Linked DNA regions of Homo sapiens: all the other regions are linked to region 1. Evidence: promoter capture Hi-C in 16 types of primary human blood cells and fetal thymus (Javierre and others, 2016). All regions are on one chromosome and are shown on one strand. Each heading gives the region's core, a stretch centred on a gene start or on the middle of the fragment in contact. The rest is flanking DNA. Distances are from core to core; before and after follow the strand shown.

Region 1 (4,633 bases), core at 1,430-3,929:
GAAAGGAACCATCTGATTCAGAAGGTGGGAGGTCCTGGCAAAAACATCCTGGGGATGGCTGGGCGTGGTGGCTCATGCCCGTAATCCCAGCACTTTGGGAGGCCAAGGCGGGTGGATCACCTGAGGTCAGGAGTTCAAGACCAGCTTTGCCAACATGGTGAAACCCTGTCTCTACAAAATATACAAAAGTTAGCCAGGCGTGGTGGCAGGCACCTGTAATCCCAGCTACTCGGGAGGCTGAGGCAGGAGAATCGCTTGAACCCAGGAGTCAGTGGTTGCAGTGAGCCGAGATTGTGCCATTGCACTCCAGCCTGGGCGGCAGAGTGAGACTCTGTCTCAAAAAAAAAAAGCATAGACCTAAATGTAAGAACCAAAACTATGAAGCTTCTAGAAGAAATTATAGGAGAAAATCTTAGTGACTTTGTGTTAGGCAAAGATTTCATAATCAGTATCAATATCTGGTTTGTGGAAAAAAGATTTCTTAAATAGGCAAATTCCATGAACTATGAAAGAAAAAAATACACTGAACTTCATAAAAATTAAAACCTTTTGTCTATTCATTTATTGCCATATATAAGCCACATGACGTTTCTCCTTGCTCCAGCCTGGATACAGGAAACCCTTATACGGTTGTCTATCCCAGCAGCTATCATATGCCAGGCTTCTATTTGTGTCCTACAGACTGTACATCCCTCAAGGGCAGAAAACATACCTTGCAAATGTCCTCACTGCCTAACATGTTGATAATTGCAAAGCCCAGGCATAACTGCACAGTTCCACATCTGATTAGGATGCTTAGGTCACATTACTTTCAATTAAAAAAGACTAAAAAGTTGGTAAACAATCAAATGCTCAAAAATCAGGCAATGATGGTAAATTGTGATATATATTGATAGCATATTACAGCAAATCAAATGTTTTCAAAGAACTTTTGGTTATTGGGTATATGGTCATGATGGAAATTGAAAGATATGAAATACAGAAGACACTGTTTAGAAATAGACCAAAATACACACAGGATTTTGGAACACGGTAAAAGTAGCAATTCATTTCGGGGGAGAGATGGCTTATACTCATTGGAAAGAGCCTTTCCTTTCTTTTAATGCCTAGCCACAGACCACTGACTCCACGACTGGGGGAAATGTGGAGCCCTGGGGGCAGAGAGCAAGCCTGCCCTCTGTCCCTCTGCCCCTGTGCCCCTCTGCCCACGTGGGCACGCAGCCTTAGTTAAGACCCCAATAAGTGGTAGGCTCTCTAAAATGTGTTCACAACCTTTAAAGCAGTCATTCTATTTTAGGAAGACACTGTAAGAAAATAATCCTAAAGAGAAAAATATGTATCAATTGTAGAAGGACATCTATAAGCTGCTCCATTTATTTATTTATTTATTATTTATTATTATTATTTTTGAAGCAGAGTCTCGTTCTGTCGCTCAGACTGGAGTGCAATGGTGCGATCTCGGCTCACTGCAACCTCTACCTCCAGGGTTCAAGCGATTCTCTTGCCTCAGCTTCCCGAGTAGCTGGGATTACAGGCACCCGCCACCACGCCGGGCTAATTTTTTGTATTTTTAGTAGAGACAGGGTTTCTCTATGTTAGCCAGGCTGGTCTCGAACTCCTGACTTGTGATCCGCCCGCCTTGTCCTCCCAAAGTGCTGGGATTACAAACGTGAGCCACCGCGCCCGGCCAGGTGTTCCATTTATAAAGCAAAATACAAAAATGAAATGGCTAGGGGCACGAGGCCGCCTGGTGGGTGAGAGCAGCGGCCATGGATGGCTTTGCGCAGACCAACAAACAGCTAAATTATAGAGGAACTACATATTGAAATGTAAATTCACGCATGAGGTCTGTATTAATATTGAAAATGCCTAAATAAAAATAATCTTTTTTTTCTGAGCCTGGGGGTGGGGGAGTGGAGTGGCGTGGGGGAGTTGGGGTGGAGGGGGAAAGGGTCTTTCTATGTCGCCCACTGGTGTCAAACTCCTGGGTTCAAGCAATCCTCCCGCCTCAGCTTCGGAAGCAGCTGGGAATACAGGCGCGCGCATCAAGCCCGGTTAAATAAAATCTGTTTCCCCCAGTTAAAAAAAAATTAATTTGTGTGGGTACATAGGTGTATATATTTCTGGGGTATATGGGATATTTTGATACAGGCATACACTGTATAATAATCACATCAGGGTAAATGAGGTATCCGTTACCTCAAGCATTTATCCTTTGTGTTACAATATAATCTTAAAGGGAAAAAAAGAGCAGCACAGGTAGTACTGACTGCAGCTGTACAGAAACAATGCGTGCCATAAATATTCATTTGAAAGAGAGGGGTTATGATTATTTACAATCATTAGCGAATGTAGCAACATTCTGGGCACTGACAAGAAAACTGCCACAAACATGCAGGCATAATGCACAATAAGCAAGTCCAAGCTGTGGTCGGGGCTCCCTCGCGTCCCTGTAAGCTCTGAATTTAGAATGGGGTGGACCGCCTGCTGATCAAGGGTTCTGAAAGGCCGGCGGCTAATGGACCGCCAGGGGGCGCTCCACGCACGTCTCCACGTCCCCGGGCGCACCTCGCAGCCGCGCCCGCTCGCTGCCAGGCCGCTCCCTCCGTCCCTCACCCGCCCCGACTCGCTTCCGTCCCGTCCGACGCTAGGGGGCGCCGCAGGCTGCCTGGCGCGCTGCTCGCGGCCTCGGAGGGCCGGGGCTGGGTGGCAGCGGCCATGGACCGCTTCGTTTGGACCAGCGGCCTCCTGGAGATCAACGAGACCCTGGTGATCCAGCAGCGCGGGGTGCGAATCTACGATGGCGAGGAGAAGGTAGGGCGTCTGCCAACCTTCCCAACGGGCTGGCGGAAGGGACCCCCGGTGGGCGCGCGGCCCGGCTCAGCGCGGCCCGGGTCGGCGCGGCCCGGTCCCCGGCTTAGCTCACGGCCCTCGGCGGCCCGGCAGGCCTCTGTGCGGGGTGCAGCGCTCTTGCGCTCCCCGCCGGTCGGTAGCACGTGGCGTGGGGCGCTCGGCTGCCTCCCCAGCGCGGGTCCCAACTTTGGCACGGTTCCCAGCAGGCGCGGATCGCGGCCGCTTCCCTCCGCCCGGAATGCTTCCGGGAGCGCACAGCTGCAGTGCCCGGGAGAAGGAGCGCTCGCCGTCTGCGGGCGCCGGGCGGCGATCCGGCAGTCGACTTCCTTGGCGTGGTTCCAGACCCCCTGACGACACCAACCTCGGCGTCGGCACCGGACAGCCCCGTTTCGCCTTTCTGTGAGGAGGGCGCGGTGGCCGTACAGTCCGTGCCCCAGCGGAAGCTTTAGCTTGGACCTTATGCAGTCGGAGGGATTAGCATATCTGGGCAGAGGGGTGAGGGATTGCTTCGAAAGGATTTCCTAAAGAGGTATCAGTGCTTCATTGGAATGCCCTTGCCAAAGGCTATTGGGTTTTTGTTTTGTTTTCTAATTGCTTTAGAAAGGCGTTCTGAGCGTGTTTTGTAAAGTGTTATATTAATAGTAGACCGTGCCTTGTAGTGCAAGCATAAATCTTAGAAGGTGCGTTTGCAAATCGAGAGGAGAAATAGGAAGTGTAAGTAAATATTTTGTAGATACTTTACTGAAACTATGAAATATCTTGTCCTGGATTGAAATGGATAAACTGGAATTAGAAAAATTTTAAAACTCATTTACCCACAAGCATTTTTGGTTTCCAGAAGTTTTAATTTGCTACCTCTCTTCCCTTGCCGTTTTATTAACGACACTTTCCGCTGTACTTTGATATAAGTTCCTCAACTCAGCTTTTCCTGGTAAGTGCTTACAGCTATTTAGAGGCACAGGTGACATTGGACCCAGGTCCTCTGACTCTCTTAGGGCATTTTCTATGGGCTGTGTTGCCTGTATTAGTGAGTAAAGGTCTTTTCCTTAAATAATTTGCTTGGACCTAACTTCACTTACTGCCTTAGCACTTCTTAATTTAATTAATTAATTTATTTATTTTGAGACAGAGTCTCGCTCTATCGCCAGGCTGGAGTGCAGTGGCGCGATCTGGGCTCACTGCAACCTCCGCCTCCCAGATTCAAGATCCTGCCTCAGCCTCCTGAGTAACTGGGATTACAGGCGCCTGCAACCATGCCCGGCTAATTTTTGCATATTTAGTAGAGACGGGGTTTCACCACATTGGCCAGGCTGGTCTCTAACTCCTGACCTCAAATGATCCGCCCGCCTGGGCCTCCCAAACAGCTGGGATTACAGGCTCTTGAGCCACTGTGCCCAGCCTGCCTTGGCACTTTAACTATCTTGATCTCAAGATGAGTCTTCCATCCCCGGATTGGAGTGACAAGCTATTTTTTTCTCCTTTCTTACCAATTTACATCTTTGTGACTATTTAAAATGGGAAGGTTAATCCACCTCCCCTTCCTCGGTGTTTTGATTTTGCCTCCCCTTTGAGAGGAACCGAATGTTGACAGTGTTAGATCTGTCCTCAGAGACTCCTCCAGTGCCACTCCCTGAGGGAGCACTAGGAAGTCATGCTTTTGCAGAGCATGGCATGATACTGTTCTATGGAACTCCAATTTGAAGACTAGGAACACCTTTGCTGGCAGGCAGTATAGCTGTGATAGATTTAAAACAGTGTAAAATAACAACCATTAGTAGTT
Region 2 (4,633 bases), core at 1,276-3,775, 3.0 Mb after region 1:
CTAGGTTACTGTCAGAATGATCTACTGGAAATGTACTAGGTTACTGTCAGAATGATCTACCGGAAATGTACTAGGTTACTGTCAGAATGATTTACCAGAAATGTGCTAGGTTACTGTCAGAATGATCTACCGGAAATGTACTATGTTACTGTCAGAATGATCTACCTGAAATGGACATCTGCTCATATTTCCCCATCACCTACAGAAGTCAAGCTCCGTAGTGTTATATACAAGTACATTCATTCCTTCAACAAATATTTAATGAGGACTTACTATTATTTAATATTTAATGAGTACCTACTATGTCCTACTACTACTACTAGGCCAACCAGTCTAGGCACTAAGGATAGAAGAGAGTAAGACGAATTTACATGCCAGTGGCCAGTGGTAGAGACAGGCATTAAACAAGTTTTGTTTTGTTTTCCAGGTAGTGATAAGTACTATAGAGAAAGAATAGAGCAGAAGGAGGTAGAGAGTGACAGGAGCAGGGGCAAGGGGTGCTCTTTTAGACAGGATGGGCAGGCAAGGTTGAGGGAAGATGTATATGAGCAGACACCTGAATATGATGGGGAACTGAAAATGGGATAATGTGGCAATGAGTTTTCCTTGCAGAGAATAGCAAATGGAAAGATCCTGAGGCAGGGACAGCTTTGGTGGCTTAGAGGACCTACAAGGTAGCAGGGTAGCAGAGTCATTAAGATGGGCAGGAGTCAAATCAGATAAGGACATGGGGTAAACTGCAGGCCAGGCTCATAGATTGTTCTGAGAGTCATGGGAGACTATTGGTGGGTTTTGAGTAGGAGAATCACATTTGCTTTTTGTTTTTCAAAAAGCATTTTGGCCGCTCTGCAGGCCTGCCTGTATTAAAGGCTAGAATAGAAGCCAGGAAAGCAATAGTCCAGACAGAAGATCATGATGGCGTAGGCTTGGGTGGCAGTAATGGAAGTGGTGAGAAGCAGTCAGGCTCCAGATACAGTCAGGCTGAACACAGAACTGGCTGGCCCGACTGATGCATTAGAAGGGGTGTCCGGAGGAAAGAGAGGCCCTGAGGAGCCACTAAGGTTTTTGCAAGGAGCACCTGGGCGAATGGAATGGGCTGGTGGTTGAGCAGGTTTGGAGTACCTGAATACAGTGGAGGAAACAAGAATTCTCTTTGGGACATACTCAGTTTGAGATCATTTCAGAAATGGAAGAAGTTGGTTATACCAGTCTGGAGTTTGAGGAAGAGGTCAGGATGGAAGCGCATCTCCCGTGACTTACCTTACAGTCCATATGTATACCAATGAATGAAATATCCAACTGATTGGCTTGTGGTTGCCACGTATGATGTTTACGTGTGACGTTTTGTGGTTTGGTGCCTTTGTGTCATCCTCTCTGCTGGGAACACCCCTTCAACTTTTCCACCTTTGGCTGAGTCTTGCCCTTTAAAGGTAAGCCCATGAAACATGGAGAAACCCTCTCTACTAAAAATACAAAATTAGCTGGGCGTGGTGGCACATGCCTGTAATCCCATCCACTCGGGAGGCTGAGGCAGGAGAATCGCTTGAACCCGGGAGGCAGAGGTTGCAGTGGGCCGAGATAGCGCCTTTGCACTCCAGCCTGGGCAACAAGAGTGAAACTCCTCTCAAAAAAAAAAAAAAAAAAAAAGGGTAAGCCCAGCCATCCTCTCCTCAAAAAGCTTTCCCTGAAGACTGGGAGTCAGGAGTCTCTCATCTGTACCTCTGTGGTTCTGACCTCCTCATTAAAGTTGCCTAGTAGAGTCTCTAGGGCAGGGTCTGCCTAACTCATCTTTGTATGCTCAGGACCTTGCCCTGAGCCTGGCACACCGTTTGGAGCTATACACACACGCAAGGGCAGGAACCCATCAGAAGACCCACCCACTCAAGTAGAGGGCCGGGGAGGACTGGAACGACTGGAGAAGGGGAGACGGGTTCCAGTCACGTCCTCCGTGAACGTGAGACCCAGCTCTTCCCTCAGGGCCGCCCCCTGCCTCACCGCATCAGGGCGCCCCTCCACTGTCCTGGTTTACCGGTGAGCGGAGGGGCGCTAGGAGAGTTGACATCGGTTGTGGTGGAAGCACTGGGCTGTCACCCGCGGGGGAGGTAAACCGAAGCGTGCCCACCACTCGCGCGAAACCATGGGCAGTCAGAGCCACCTGTGGAACTGGCCTGGGCCGCGCCCTGTCCTCTGGCCCCCTCCCCCACCAACAGGCACGCGAGTGGTGAGCCAAGTTCGTCCAGCGCCGCCCCGGCGTCTAGGGCCCCGGCCCGGAGTAGGGGCAGGTCGGGCCCCCATGCGGCCACGACCGGAAGGCAGGCCCCTTGACCGGGCCCGTCGCTGCCCAGCCCCGCCCGCCCGCCCGCCCGCCCCCGCGGTACACACCGGTGGGAAGGAGGAGCGCCTCCTGCGCGGGCCGGGCCTCCGGGCTGCTGGCGCCGAGCACCCTCTCGGGCCGGGGCGGCGACGCCTGGGCCATGACTGTGCTGCAGCTGCGGGTGGCGGCCGGATAGCGAGATCCCGGAAGTGCCCCAGCTGCACTAGGTTTCGTTTTCTTAAATCTGGGCTGTCGCTTTGAGTCACTAGCCGGCCCGGGGAAAGTTGGGTGTGCAGAGAGGGGTTGTCACACACACTGCTCCAGATTCCAGTCTAGTCTTAATTTGAATAGCTTAAAAAACCCAAACGCCGGGAGCAGTGGCTCACGCCTGTAATCCCAGCACTTTGGGAGGCCGAGGAGGGCGGATCACGAGGTCAGGAGTTCAACACCAGCCTAACCAACATGGTGAAACCCCGTCTCTACTAAAAATACAAAAATTAGCTGGGCATGGTGGCGGGTGCCTGTAATCCCAGCTACTCCAGACACTGAGGCATGAGAATCGCTTGAATCGGGAGGCGGGGCTTGCAGTGAGCCGAGATCGCGCCACTACACTCCAGCCTGGGCTACAGAGCGGGACTCCGTCTCAAAACAAACAAACAAACAAACACACACAAAAAACAAACAAACAAAAAAACCCCAAACGCCAGGCTTCCCTACTCCACCCCCCACAACACAGCGGGAGAAACAATCACTCTCCTGAGGGTTCCTCCTAAAAACTATCATACTGGCCGGGTGGGCGCGGTGGCTCACGCCTGTAGTTCCAGGACTTTGGGAGGCCGAGGTGGGCGAATCACGAGGTCAGGAGTTCGAGACCAGCCTGGTCAACATGGTGAAACCCCGTCTCTACTAAAAATACAAAAATTAGCCGGGCTTGGTGGCGGGCGCCTGTAATCCCAGCTACTCGGGAGTCTGAGGCAGGAGAATCGCTTGAACCCGGGAGGCGGGGGTTGCAGTGAGCCAAGATCGCGCCACTGCACTCCTGCCTAGGCGACAGAGCCAGACTCCCTCTCAAAAAAAAAAAAAAAAAAAAAAAAATTATCATACCGAGTTTGGCTTAAATAAGCATATCTTAAAAGGACGCAGAATTAGCCGATCCTAAATCCAGTTGCCAGTAGCAAGCCTTTATTTAGCACCCATAGGGTACAGAGCACCATACAAGATGAGGTTTTCAGTGAATCTAACATAAATGCATATAATTATAGTTAAAAAATAAGTTGTTCTGGAAAAAAGACATATAATAGTTGGTGGTTTGCTGAGGAATTAAAGGAAAACTGGAGGTCTTCCACTTTCAGCAGGTTGTAAAGAGGAAGACTGCCAACTAGGGATAGCAGAAGAGAGAACATTAAAAAGGACAATTTGTATAGTCTTGACAACTATGAAATGAATTGCAGAAGAGTGTGGGGTCTGCAAAACAGGGAAGTGAGCAGACAGACCCTAGCAGCCAATTTTTAAATTTTTTTTTGCCCTCCATGCAGGAGGATGAAAGAGTATTTCTTGCCAGGCCAAAATGAAAGGCCCTTTATAAAGAGACTGACATTAGGGTGTTCCCCAGCAAGATAGCTCAGGTAGGTCATAGTAAAACAAAGAGCCCTTTACCACACTCTCAGCTTATAGTAAGCTTTTTGGTGTTCCACACTTAAATATGAGTAGACTACCAAGACCATTAACTCTGAGGAAAGCCTATAATGTGAACGACCAAAACAAACATACAGGGGAAACAAAGAAACAAACCCTGGAGGACACAGATTATGCCGAAAGAATACAGAGATGCATGCCTGTATGTGTATGTATACGTGTGTGCATATACATACATAAACACACAAACATCTTCAAGGAGATAAAATACTGCAACCATGAGCCAAAATAGGATGCTATTAAAAAAAAAGAATATTCGGAGAAGGGGAGCTCTTAGAAATTAAAAATATGAGACAATATGAGACTAGAAAAATAAAATGCAACAGATGAACTGGAAGATTAAATTGAGAAATGCTCCTAGGAAAAGGTCCTAGCAAGAAGACAGAGCTGAAAGTTAAGAGAAAAGATAGGAAAATTAGAGATCAAATTCTGGAGGTCTAACATCTGGAAAACAGGAATTCCAGAAACAGTGAAGAGATGGGAAATCATTAGTTTCAGACGGAATGATCCCACCAGGCACCTAGTACAAAGGATGAAAATGGACTCTTAACAGGGACAGAACATTGAGACAAAGATAAACCTATAAGCTTCAAGAGAGATAAAAATGGATTATATATGCAAAAG
Region 3 (4,633 bases), core at 1,470-3,969, 2.7 Mb after region 1:
ATTATAATAGAGACTGAGCAACAGTCTGAAAATTTCTCTTCCATTTAGCCAAGGAGAATGGCAAACACACAAGTTCTGTTTCCTTAAAACCCAGAGTTGAGCTAATGTATTCTTTCTTTTTTCTTTTTTTTGAGACAGAGTCTCATTCTGTTACCCAGGCTGGAGTGCAGTGGCGCAATCTCAACTCACTGCAACCTCCGCCTCCCAGGTTCAAGCGATTCTCCTGCCTCAGCTTCCTGAGCACCTGTGACTACAGGCATGCACCACCATGCCTGCCTAATTTTTGTATTTTTGTAGAGAAAGGGTTTCACTATGTGGGCCATGGTTGGCCAGACTGGTCTCAAACTCCTGACCTCAGGTGATCCTCCCACCTCAGCCTCCCAAAGTGCTGGGATTACAGGCATGAGCCACTGTGCCCTGCCTAATGTATTCCTTCTAAATTCATAGCTGGTGTGTGTGTGTGTGTTTCCCTTCAAATGAGTGGTTAGACTAAGATCAGGTGTTGCAAACTGAGGACCTGATATTCTGAAGTGACTGAAATGCTTAAGTCCATTAACAAAATGTGAATTAACATTTAAAAATAAAGAGAAAAAGAATCTACCTTTTTGGTTTTCCTTGAAAAGTGGAATCTTCTGGCAACACTGGGCCACAGTCCAGTATGACCAGAGGATCTGAAGCCTGTGTTTATCAATAGGCCACACCCCACCACTCACAAGACGAATGCCCCTGGACATAGCTTGGCCACCAAAGGCTTCTGAATTCCTGACTTCTGGGCCTCAGGTTCTTTAAGGCCCTTTCGCTTTTTTTTTTTTTTTTTTTTCTGTATCTCCTCATATATTTATTCTTTTTCTGTGATCAGTGTCCTTTGCATGTTTTTGTTGGGTTGTTTGAATTTTTTATTTTTATTTTTTGGGGATGGAGTCTCACTCTGTCGCCTAGGCTGGAGTGCAGTGACACGATCTCAGCTCACTGCAACCTCCGCCTCCCAGGTTCAAGCAATTCTCCTGCCTCAGGCTCCCAAGTAGCTGAGATTACAGGTATGCGCCATATGCCCGTCTAATTTTTGTATTTTTTTTAGTAGAGGTGGGGTTTCACCATGTTGGCCAGGCTGGTCTCGACCTCCTGACCTTGTGATCCACCCACCTCGACCTCCCAAAGTGCTGGGATTACAGGCATGAGCCACCGCGCCCAGCCAAGGCCCTTTCGCTTTAAAGATTGTCCTTTTTGATCTCTTCATGGTATAGTCCTACCAACTTTTGACCTCAGTTCAATTATAAGTACTACAACATTACATACCTGCTCATGTCTACCATAGATTCTGAAAATTAACATACAAGCAAATGAAGCCCACCTGCTCCAGAAAGTAGCTTTTTGTTTTTGTTGTTGTTGTTTTTGTTGTTTTGTTTGAGACAGAGTCTCCCTCTGTCGCCAGGCTGGAGTGCAGTGGCGCCATCTCGGCTCGCTGCAACCTCCGCCTACCGGGTTCAAGCGATTCTCCTGCCTCAGCCTCCAGGCATGCGCCACCACGCCCAGCTAATTTTTGTATATTTAGTAAAGAAGGGGTTTCACCATGCGGGCCATGGTTGGCCAGACTGGTCTCGGTCTCTTGACCTTGTGATCTGCCCTCCTCGGCCTCCCAAAGTGCTGGGATTACAGGCGTGAGCCACCACACCCGGCCGAAAGCAGCTCTTTATCAGTGTAATCCATCCAAATTTCCCTCTTTCATTCTTTCGATGCCCCCAGAGGGAGTGGGAGTGCTACACAGGAGAGTCTGCGGACCAGGGCTGGGCTGCTGCCTGAAGGCTAAGATTCTGTGTGGTGGTAGAACAAGAAGTGTTGGGGGGCATGTAAATACAGGGACTGCCAGAGTGAAGGTTGCAGAACCGGGCTTGGAAGGATGATGAAGAAACTGGGCGACACTAAAGCGCCAGTTCAACAAGTATTGCGTATCTACGACGTGGTAGGCATTGTTTTGACACTAGAGATTCAGCAGTAATTCAACCAAAGTACCTGCTCTCATTGAGCTGAATTTCCGCGCGGGCACCTAGGTAACGCATATAAACACTCGTATCACATACATACACATGTACATGTCAGGTAGAAATGCTATTTATAAAACTGAAGCAGAGCATGGGAAGAGCGAATGAAGGTGGCTATTTGAGAAGACCCCCAAAAAAGCGAGACTGCAAAGCACTCGCGGTTGTTCCTTTTCTGATCTTCTAGCTACAGGCAGCGAGGTGCGCTCCCAGGAAGGCCCGCCCTCTTCCTCCTGATAGGGCGCAAGGTGCCAGGGACGCTCCCCCGCTCTTCCCCGCCCAGAGGCGGCCTTGTGGGGGCGGAGCTTTGTGCCCAGCAACATGAGCGCGGCGCGCAAAGAGCCGCGCGCGGAAGGGTCCCGGCATTCTCCTCGTTCTCACTAGGCGTGGAGAATTACTCCAGGCGGATCGTGGCATGATGGGAACTGTAGTTGACGACCGCCGCCCCGCGCCTGAGGGGCAGTAAAAGTCGCCAGGTCCGGCTCCATTTCTGGCACAAAACTTGCAGCACCGAGGGGTTGTGGAGAGCCCTTGCAGGGGAAGAGGGCAGGGTCATCCCGAGAACCAACGGGCACGTATAGCCCGGCGAACGCCCAAGCCGGTCACCGCCCCCGGTCACGTGTCGCCAGCCTCCGCGGCCGCGCGCCGCTCTCAGCACCGTTCCCGCCCCACCCGGCCCGGCAGTCGGCCCGCGCCTCCCCCGGCGCTACTGCCACCTCGCGCTCGGAGGCGTCACAGAACGTGCTCTTCTCTCCCCTCCCCCCTCCCGCTCTCCCCCTCCTCCCCCTCCCGCTCCAAGATTCGCCGCCGCCGCCGCCGCAGCCGCAGGAGTAGCCGCCGCCGGAGCCGCGCGCAGCCATGGCCGAGAACCCCAGCTTGGAGAACCACCGCATCAAGAGCTTCAAGAACAAGGGCCGCGATGTGGAAGTGAGTGTGCTTCCGCGGTCTGGGCCCGCCTGGCCGCGCCGGCCCGGCGACGCGGGGAGGGGCGGGGGGCCGGCGCCGGGCTGGTTCTCGTCGGCTTGTGGTCGGCCGGAGTTGGCCGCCGCCTCCCGTCACCGCGGCCCCGGGCTGGGCGGAGCGGGCGGCGAGACGCCGGCCGGGCTGCAGTCACCCCCCGGAGCTGCCGGCGCGGCGACCGGGAAATGCCGGCGTTTTCGGCCCCGTCACGCGGGCGCGGCCTGGTGTCGGCGAGGAGGGGATGTGGAGCTGAGGCGGGGTCCGCGGGCCAGGGCCGCCCGGATGAACGGGGATGCTGCCGCCCGGGCCCTCCGACCGCACAGCCGAGGGGGCGGCCGCTGCTTGCGCCCGCCACCGGTGCAACCTTCCGTCCGGTGCAGCCCCCTCTGCGCCTCCCGCGCGGCTCACATGGAGCCTCGGCTCTGCCGGTCCGGGCTCCTACCTTCTGCGAGCCGGGCCCAGGCGGGCGGTGGCGGCCCGCAGAGGGGGGTGGGGACCAGCCGGGTAACTGACTTGTTTGAGGGTGATCGATGGGGGAGGGTAGGATGCGCCAGGACCATTTTCTTATATTCCAGTGCTCGTCTTTGGACTAGTCGTGCCGAGCTGTTGCAGCTCATACTCCTGCAACTGCTGGCATTTGGAGCGAGCTGAAGGTGGACAATAGTTTGCCATCTATTGTGTTCAGGCTTCGGAAAAGAGGTTGCTCCGACCTCCGCTCATAGGACTTGTTTTCTTAGCCTTTCTTGGAGTGGGGTGTGCATAGGGTGATAATTTCTTTGACACGTTTTACTAAAATAAATTGGATACACAGGTTCATAATTCTCTTACATACCTCTTGCTCCAAGCTAGTAGAATTTCCAAGTGGTTGCAAAACTAAACATTCATCGCGGTCACTCAGTTAGTTGCTACTCAGCATGTTGCCATTGTCTCATTAAGGTGACATTAGCAGGTACTATTTGCAAACTCGGCTTATTGAGGCAGCGCTAGAGGTCTCTCTGCAGCTACTGAAAACAGTAAGTATAATGCACAAACTTCACTGGGACCGTGACCTTTGGATTTGTTAGGGGGAAAATGGTTTTAAGGCCGCAGCCTTCTTTGCTAATACTAGGCGACATGATTTGCAGTTTTGTAATTTTTGATAAGCTAGTGTGATTAAGAGGTGTGTTTTATCCTGTCTTAAGGAAGGTTGTGGGGTAAATATACCATTCAGTGTTCTATTTTGTAGAGAAACAGACAAACTCAGGCCGTTTTTCAGAGCTACAAAATTAAATACTAGTAGGAAAGAACCTAGGGAGATATCCGTGGAATTCCCATTTAAATGAGTCAAATAAAGATCATATATTCTTTCCTGGTCATGGTTAAATACCCTTTGTAAGAAATACATCTAAGCGAAAGTAAAACTTGGGAATAGGAACAAGAAATTTTGGAACTGCCTCCTGTTATTGGTCCACTTGATGACAAGTGTTAATTTTGAACTTTTCCCATTAGGAATTTTTCTTGAAGCCTATCCTGTTCCAAATAAAAATTTATTGAAAAATACTCATTGTTTGTACAGAAAAACCAGTAACATTCTTCTCTCGGATATTGGTACAGGTTTTTGTTTCATTGTTTACCTCTATTGTGTTCTGGTAGCTCAG

What was found. The method cuts DNA at HindIII sites, captures the fragments that hold promoters and counts their contacts. A CHiCAGO score of 5 or more calls a contact.
Region 2: a contact is called between the fragment with the promoter of PHF11 here and the fragment with the promoter of VPS36 in region 1, in 1 of 17 cell types (fetal thymus). The highest score is 10.0, in fetal thymus.
Region 3: the fragment with the promoter of KPNA3 here is called in contact with the fragment with the promoter of VPS36 in region 1 in 2 of 17 cell types (neutrophils and fetal thymus); the score reaches 6.6 in neutrophils.

The regions. Positions count from the first base shown.
Region 1 is chr13:52,448,680-52,453,312 of GRCh38, reverse strand. It overlaps VPS36 (vacuolar protein sorting 36 homolog), which reads left to right and starts at 2,679. Exons shown (of 14, transcript NM_016075.4): 1 at 2,679-2,814. The coding sequence starts at 2,719. RefSeq lists silencers at 2,433-2,492, 2,533-2,992 and an enhancer at 2,513-3,093. The HindIII fragment of the contact is 2,912 bases long and covers 387-3,298 here.
Region 2 is chr13:49,493,845-49,498,477 of GRCh38, reverse strand. PHF11 (PHD finger protein 11) reads right to left here and starts at 2,525. Exons shown (of 10, transcript NM_001040443.3): 1 at 2,383-2,525. The coding sequence starts at 2,476. All of the region lies in intron 12 of SETDB2-PHF11 (SETDB2-PHF11 readthrough), which reads right to left. It overlaps SETDB2 (SET domain bifurcated histone lysine methyltransferase 2), which reads right to left. Exons shown (of 14, transcript NM_001160308.3): 14 at 3,475-4,633. RefSeq lists enhancers at 1,944-1,993, 2,484-2,723, 3,034-3,719 and a silencer at 2,184-2,463. The HindIII fragment of the contact is 2,314 bases long and covers 1,681-3,994 here.
Region 3 is chr13:49,790,768-49,795,400 of GRCh38, reverse strand. It overlaps KPNA3 (karyopherin subunit alpha 3), which reads left to right and starts at 2,719. Exons shown (of 17, transcript NM_002267.4): 1 at 2,719-2,963. The coding sequence starts at 2,895. RefSeq lists enhancers at 2,424-2,553, 2,357-3,018, 3,019-3,680, 3,685-4,204 and silencers at 2,624-2,873, 2,994-3,563. The HindIII fragment of the contact is 6,989 bases long and covers 1-4,633 here.